Linked DNA regions of Homo sapiens: region 2 is linked to region 1. The links are contacts of gene promoters, found by promoter capture Hi-C in human tissues and cell types (Jung and others, 2019). All regions are on one chromosome and are shown on one strand. Each heading gives the region's core, a stretch centred on a gene start or on the middle of the fragment in contact. The rest is flanking DNA. Distances are from core to core; before and after follow the strand shown.

What was found. The method cuts DNA at HindIII sites, captures the fragments that hold promoters and counts their contacts. A contact is called where the count stands out against the background at its distance.
Region 2: a fragment that was not itself captured here is called in contact with the fragment with the promoter of ZNF516 in region 1 in 1 of the 25 tissues and cell types used here (dorsolateral prefrontal cortex).

The regions. Positions count from the first base shown.
Region 1 is chr18:76,493,564-76,497,464 of GRCh38, reverse strand. It overlaps ZNF516 (zinc finger protein 516), which reads left to right and starts at 2,223. Exons shown (of 7, transcript NM_014643.4): 1 at 2,223-2,321. It overlaps ZNF516-DT (ZNF516 divergent transcript), which reads right to left and starts at 2,126. Exons shown (of 2, transcript NR_164145.1): 1 at 1,679-2,126; 2 at 1-1,186. It overlaps ZNF516-AS1 (ZNF516 antisense RNA 1), which reads right to left. Exons shown (of 2, transcript NR_136504.1): 2 at 3,547-3,901. RefSeq lists silencers at 2,114-2,173, 2,304-2,403, 3,104-3,193. The HindIII fragment of the contact is 9,582 bases long and covers 1-3,901 here.
Region 2 is chr18:74,782,808-74,786,708 of GRCh38, reverse strand. The region is part of intron 4 of ZNF407 (zinc finger protein 407); the gene reads right to left. Among named protein-coding and RNA genes, the nearest start is that of ZNF407, 190 kb to the right of the region's middle. The HindIII fragment of the contact is 4,029 bases long and covers 1-3,901 here.

The DNA of each region.
Region 1 (3,901 bases), core at 974-3,473:
GAGCTAGGAATAGTGCATTGACAAATGAACAACCACCAGTGACTTGTGTACAATCAATGTGAACACGTTTCAATTGTCAGTAACAAAATGATGCTGGCCCTCCAGCTGCCATTTTCTAGGTCTGCCACACCAGACACCAGGACTTAACTCTTTGCCCATCCATCAAATTACGCTCTCAGATTTCGCATGCACTGTAGATAAACGTGTAAGAAAGGAAATGGTTTAAAAGCACAATATTATTGTAGACAGACAATGCCCTGAGTGAAATCACATGTGGGTGACTTAAGACAGGGCCCTAAACCGGCTAGAAAAAGGAAGCAAGTCATGAACAGTTTTATGTGGAGGGGTTTGGAAGTCTTGATCACCATTCAATGATCTACCTTGTCCATTTTCAACACATGGAAATTGTTAGCGCAAGTTTGTACTTTAAAATAGACCCAAGAATGCAGATGAACGTAGGTTTACAGGACTGATATTCATTCCAAAATCCTACCAAAAAGCTATTAAAGTGTCTTCAAATTTTAATCTTTGTTGTTACCTACATGTATGTAATAATATGTGTATACAAGGACATTTACGGCTTTGTAATTAACTGAATTTGGGGATACTTTCTTTGTGCATTTTCACAGTGTACTGAAATGAATGGTGGGCACGTCAATACTTTTCGGTGAATCAGACTTAAACGTGATTGCTGAAGAATACATCCCACTTAGGCATTCATGCTGAAGCCAGCAACAATTGTCCGTGACCTTTAACATGCCCGCTCTCCAAATCAGTGCAGGTCGTTAGTCACACGGAGCTTACATTTGAGGACTCGCGGATCCTTCATAGCGGAGGTTGTCCCTGTCTTTCTGCCTGACTCCCCCCCGCCCCCCGACCCCGACACACACTCCCCACCGCCCCCAGAAACATCACACATGCAGAATGCCCCCCCCGTCTGATCGCCAGCTTTCGGGCACATGCGCCTCCCTTTGCAGCGCGTCTGGAGTAGTTTCTTTTGTAAACGCCCTAAGTTGGGGAGGGCCGCGGGCTGCGAGTGTGAGGCGCAGAGAGAGACGCCGCCGCTGAGGTAACCGCCAGGATTGCAGCGCTGATTGCTACGCGGAGCCACGTTGGGCGTCTTGGACGGAATCCACCTCCACTGCGGAGTTATCACGAGGAGAAGGAGAACAATACGGCCAGGAGCCTGGTGGGAGAAGATAGTGTTACCCCTCCGCAGGCCGCAGCTCCCCGGGTCTACGTCACCGGCCGTGAAGGGGCGCTCGCCCTCGCTAGCTCCGACCCGCCCCTCCCCCGCCCCCGCGCGCCCGCCCTCCCCTCCCCCACCCCGGCCATCCCTGCCCTGTAACAGGAGAGCGTTTTGGAGTCAAATTAGGATTTCTAGTCCCAGACTCAACTTATTACAACTAACTACTGCTCGTGGGGAGTAGGTGAGGTGAAGAAATGAAGTTTTAAGAACAGAAAAATAAGAGTTGAACTTTCGAGGCTACCGGTAAACAACCCCTTCATTTTTAAATGGCCGGGTGGCAGAGCCGCTGTTTGAAGTCTTTCCAGCGGGACCTCTGTGACCCTTGATTCAGGACTTAATGTATTGATCCTGCATCTGAACACCCCCAGAGGCATTTACCAGGAAGTTGAGTGACACGCACACGCTACGCCGTGTGTAATGCACACGCACCTGGGACCCCCGAAGGGGTGTCCCCATTTCAGTCCAGATGGGGCGCAGTGCCCAGGTACCCGCCGGCGGGACCCGCATCCCGAGCACGTCTGTACGTATGGATGCGCGTGTGCGCGCGGAAACGGCCTCCGGGAGCCGGGGCTGCAGCAGCCTTAGACCTTGACGAGGGGCGACCACTGGCCGCTGGAACCGTGATTCAGTGCTATTAGGGGAGGAATTGGCTGTGTCTGAGTCACTGCAAGCCTCCAGACTGTCCCCTCAGTGTGGCAGAACTTTGTGCTGATGAGACAATAGTGGAGTGTGCGTTTCCTACAGGGCAGACCATTTCCAGGCTGGGGGAAGCCTCCGGCCTGCGCCGGGCCGTGAGCGCCCGGCCCCCTCCCCGTGCCGCGCAGCCCCCCGAGCCCGGCTCGCGCCGGGGCCCCCGCGGGGCGGACGCGTCCGGGGCGCGCGCGGGCGGCGCGAGGAGGGGGCCGGGCGCGTGGCGGGCCCCGCGCGCCCTCGCGCGTCCCCCGCGCCCGGGCGCAGCTGGCGCGGTCGGTCTAGTGCAGCGCTCGGCTCCGCGCCGCGGGCGCTCGGCTTCACCTTCAGATGCGCGGGGCGTGCGCGTCCTCCTCCCCAGGCCCGCCGCCTCCCTGCCAAGGTAGGGGCCGCGGGCGGGGGGAGGGCTGCGCCGCAGGGGCCGCGGGCGGGCGGTGGGCGCGGGGCCCGGAGCCCCGACGTGCCCCGTACTCTGGTGTGCGCCGCTGGGGGTAGGGGGGGAGGCGCTGGGGAGGGGGGTGCGCCGGGGAGGGGCCCCCCGGGCGCGGGGAGGGCTACTTGGCTTTCCCGGTGGGTAGTTGCTCTGCTCGTCAATTCCAGGATAGGGGAAGATGCAACTTCGGGCGGCGGGGCGAGCGCCCGGGAGGTGGTTTTTACCGCAGTGGAGGGGCGGGGTGGGGGCCGGGGTGGGAGCGCGGAAGAGGCTCTGGCTTTGTACACTTTGTCAAAGGCGACGCGGGAGGAGGGGAGCTCGGATGCGCTCTCCATCCATTAGGAGACAAAGAGCAAATTGCCTTACTTTAAAGTAAAACGCTCCGGCTAATGAAGGTGGGTGATGGGGCTGCGGGCCCGAGGAGCCGCTTCAATTATTAAGGGTTTGGCGGATGGGATCGATGCCTGTGGGCACCGCGCGCTGCTGCCTAGGGGACGTGTTTGCGTGGAGGTGGGGGTGGCCTTGTTTTTTACGGCCCCCTCCCCGGCTGCTTGCCAGTCTGCTGGGAGCTTCTAAGTGACCCTAACGTTAAAGAAGTGAGAGGTCCTGGAAGGGAAGTTCGGGCGGGGGTGGGGGTGGGGGCGAGGGTCTGGCACCGACTCGGAGAGGGGTGGGCAGGGACTCCTCGGAGCTGCGCCCCGCCGGGTGCGGGTGGGGGAGGCCTCGGTGGCGAGATGAACCCGGGTGTATGAAGGAAGAATGCGGTGGGGTGTGTGTGGTTGGGCGGGAGGTGGGGGGAGGCGCCTCCGCTGCCATTTCCAGGGAGAACTAACAGACTGAATAGTTACGATCAGTATTTAGATTAAACCGCCTCAAGTTTTAACGAAACTTTGTATGAATAAGTTTGTTAAATGGCAGCCGAGTGGGGTATTTAAAAGCAGCAGTTTATGTGTGTGGTGAGGAAAGCCAGTGGACCCCCGCAATTAGGGACCAGAGGGAACCAGCCTTTTACCCGAAAAATGTGGGTCTGTAAGTCAGCCTCATCTATTATCAGCGTTAATAAGCTTCCCGCAGCAGACCGGGAGCTCTGGGGGCTGTGTGTGTGTCTTACTCATTCCGCTGATAAAGAGTCACCGGGTCTCCGGGTGTGCAAAGATCAACTTGCGCAGCCCTCTTTTTAAATATATTCATTCTGTGCTTTATTTAATCCAGATGCACAAAAAGCCATTTGCTGCTGCATTGTTGGTTTACATTTTTTGAAAAGGCGACTGGTGTAACCTGTGGAATTTGAAATGCAAATAAGAGCCTGTGGGAGTAGAGGCAGAACAGATCAGCATTTATAAAGTGGAAAAGATTTAATGTCTTTGAAATCATTGCAGGGGAAGAAACTGGAGGGGGAGTGTGATTTTTCAGGGAGTGAATTGTGACGTCAGGTCTTTTTGGAAAAGATGTTATTTTTAAGGTCTGAAACCCGGCTAGGTAAAGTGCTTACAGGAAAAACAGATTACAAGATTAACATCTGTTAACAT
Region 2 (3,901 bases), core at 705-3,204, 1.7 Mb after region 1:
TGGAAAAAATGAAAAAACAGAAAGAGTTCGCAGCTCATGCAAAAGCAGTACGTCATCGAAATATAACCCCCTTCCCCACGCAACAAAATAAGCAACCCAGAATGGAAAGAACTGACATGTTTTCCTCCACTTTAGCCCAAAAGAATTATTTCTTGTGTAAATATGTTCTAAGGTGGAGAGAAGCCCATAAACACTTTATTTTTCCTAAATTGGCCATCATGGGGAAAAAAAAAAGAAAAAGAAAAAATATTGCTAACTATGGAAAAAAAATAAGAAATAAGGGAAAGACTAATAAGTAGTGGGTAAAGGGGAGAGCCTGAAGCCTGGACACAGAGGTGACTGAAAAGTTTCATAAAAAATATTCCAGAAGGAGCCCATGAAGAATATATCAGAGAGAAGAAACTATCACAACACATCCATTAGAATAAATCACCCATTTCAATGATAAAATGGATAACAGTATTTACCTTATAGAAACTCACTATGGAGGAATAGAGGAAAACTGTTTTCCCTTTAATAAAATGAAATATATGCAACAAGAACAACTTAGAAGTTATTTCTTTAAGGTGGAAAACAGTGACAACTGTGACGTCGGAGGTCAGTCATATATGATGAATAGAATATCTTCTAATAAGAAAAAATTTAATCTGTTCCCCAATAATTTCCTCAGGGTTTCTATAAACGCATGGCTTTTCTCATATAACATCATCTAAGCTTGTAAACAACCCTGTGAAGCATCAGTCACAACTGCACACATCATGTGTGCCATGTGAGTGACATCGTGTGTGCCATGTGACATGTGTGTCCCATGTGAGTGCCATGTGCGTGCCATGTGAGTGACGTGTGTGCCATGTGGGCCATGTGCATGCCATGTGAGTGACATGTGCATGCCATGTACATGCTGTGTGTGCCATGTGGGTGACATGTGTGTGCCATGTGAGTGACATCTGCATGCCAGGTGCATGCCAGGTGCATGCGCTTTTCCACAGATGCTGCTGTTTCAGATATTTTCATGTTTCATAAAAAAAAGGTGACGCTCCTGTGTAAACTTGAAAAATAGCAATGATGCTTTTATGCCACTTCAACTTATAAATATGCAAGTTTTTGAGAAAATAGAGAAAAAGGAGAGAAAAGAGTCTCCAAAAGACCCATACAATGCCATGTCCTATTATACTGGCTTCAAATAAATTAGAATAAGCATCAGGGCTCTGAGACATCTCTCCGCAATTACATTAGGTGGGGTAAAGATTTGACTCATCAATAAGATCAATGGTGCTGCTAAAAGAAAGACAGCTAACCCCATATCCCAAATGTCTCATAAAAGGGGAGAGGCCAGCACAAATTTCAGGGCTCAGTAATCTGGAGGACCCCAGAGGAAATCTTAGCCTGAGCAAAAATACTAAGAAGCCCTGAGCCAAATCCAGTAGCCTGAACACACCCAACAGCTATGCTAACAAAAATGCACTGAGGGTAAGAAACTTCACAGACTCCGACAAAAATGGCTGCACTGGAAGAAATACGTAAGGTTTTGATCTGAATATTCACCAGTAAAAACACAAGTACTTTTCCTGGGTTATGAAATTATTTAACGCTTATACTTTATGACACACGCATCTAATTTAAAATTCTTCTTTGGTAGTTTTCTGAGTTTATCAGCCTTCTTGAGATGCTGCCAGTGCAGATATGTCCTGACAGCATCTCTGACACCACAAAAGCAATGGATCAAATGCAAAGCTCTACACGAATCATTTCCCTGTCCTCCTATTTACACAGTCATTCAAAACCCAGCTGATTTCCAGCACTGAACGACGAATACCATCCACTTCCATTGTAATTGCACCTGGCTTTCACAGAAGATATACTTAGTATGGCTGTTCCAATTGTGATAATTGTAGATAAGCTCGTTTTCTAGATTACTATTAGTCAATTCAAAGAGTCATAAAGATGCTTTGGCTTACTTATACCACAAAGAGAATTACTCATTTAAAATAGCGAATACTTTCAAATGAACTTGCAAGTTAACTGGAGTTTATTATTTTAGAATGTGAACTGAATGTGGTTATATGTAATTGTTTGAATTTAAGTGTGTAGGATTTCAGAAATACTGTAGGATACTGCACTAAAATAATTTAATGCAGATGTAGGAACAAAAAAGTATAATCTTACACAAGCCATCACCTCAGGTGTTCACAGAGTCTCAAAGAAAATATTTGAAATAATTTAGTTTTCTGTTTCTAATGATAGCCATGCTGACAAAATTTATTGGATCATCAAACATTATAGTACAAGTATATGGATTTATTTTTAATAAATTATAATTTTTGCATATATCAGTCAAAGCACAAGGCCTAAATACTTGCAAACAAAATGCATTATTAATTTAATTGTCACAGCCTATTTAGCTAACTTCTATTACTATTTGCTATAATATGCAATGCATTAGAATGGAGAATCAAATTAAAAACATTTTTTAAAACTGATTATACTGTCCTGGAGAAATTAAAATACAGCAAGCTTGCAAAAGTATAACCAAGGCTTTAATGTTTTAAATAGGTAAGAAAAATATTTAACTTAATTTAGAGAACAGTTGTGCCCAGACTGATGGTCCAGCATACTGACGAAGGGTTTGCTTCCTAAAACCACTAGAAGGAAGGGAGGAAGGTGAAATGGAAACAAGGAGACTGGCATTTCTGCTTCTAGATTATACCATTGAAATCTTGGTTTGCTCTAGCTACAGGTGTCTACTGGAAAATTATACTGCTGCTGGGGTCCTGGCATTCCTGTGTAGTATTTCTCTGTAACAGGAGAGAGTGCCATATAAGCAGACGTCAAAAACAAGAAGTCCTCTCAAAGAATTTTTAAAAGGAAAAACAATTCAGTCAAAGACGTTTGGTTTAGAAGAATGTTGCTGCTTGAAGTACTTAAAAGGTACTGATCCAGAAGGTGGGTGTGCTTTCCCACTTGCGATTTTCTTGATGTTAGGACAAAAACAGTGTCAATATCTGAGAAGGGCTTACCATGTGTCAGAGGGGAGAAATTCAATCTTTCTCCTGCCTCAGTTTTAATCTCCCTTTATGTATTCAGGACAGAAATAAATATTAAAGAAAAGAAAAAGTATCCTAGAATGTAACGAAAAGGGTAAATGAAAAAAAAAAACAGTAAATTTTTGATTCTCAAATTCGTAATATATAGAGGATTTCTAGCATTTTAAGGTGTTTAATACATGAACATATATACATACATGCACATATATGGGGAGATCAACTTTTCCCTGTGAAACAATATGAACAATTCTTCAACTTTTAAAAAAATTTCTAAGTAAAAACCAAAATGATGTAGTTAAATTAAAAATATATACTATTTAAAAGTACAGTTGGGAAATATTTTCTTCTTACTACACAATCTCCACTGTTTTCATTCAAATTTATTTTGAAATCAGAGTCAGAAAAGTAACAGTTCCATCATTTATTATTTATGAGATATTGAATAAATTATTATTGTATTTTCTAGGCTCAGTCCTTAGATCTATAAAACTGGAATAATAATGTACTGCTAATAAGGTCAAAGAAGGACTGAGATAATGCATGTGAAAGCAATGAAAACATAGCAATTACAAATATGTTCTGTTTCTACATACTTAAACAACACTTATGAAACATAACTTTGACATGTCGCAAATTATTCTTTTAAAAATATAGTATAGTATGCTTTTAAATTTCAAGAATAATGCATCCCTGACACATTCAATGCATGTATTTTTGCTGCAATTATTAAATACAATGTTACAAAGAAAGATAAGGGAAATAGGCCGGGCACGGTCGCTCAAGCCTGTAATCCCAGCACTTTGGGATCACGAGATTAGGAGATTGAGACCATCCTGGCCAACACAGTGAAACCCCGT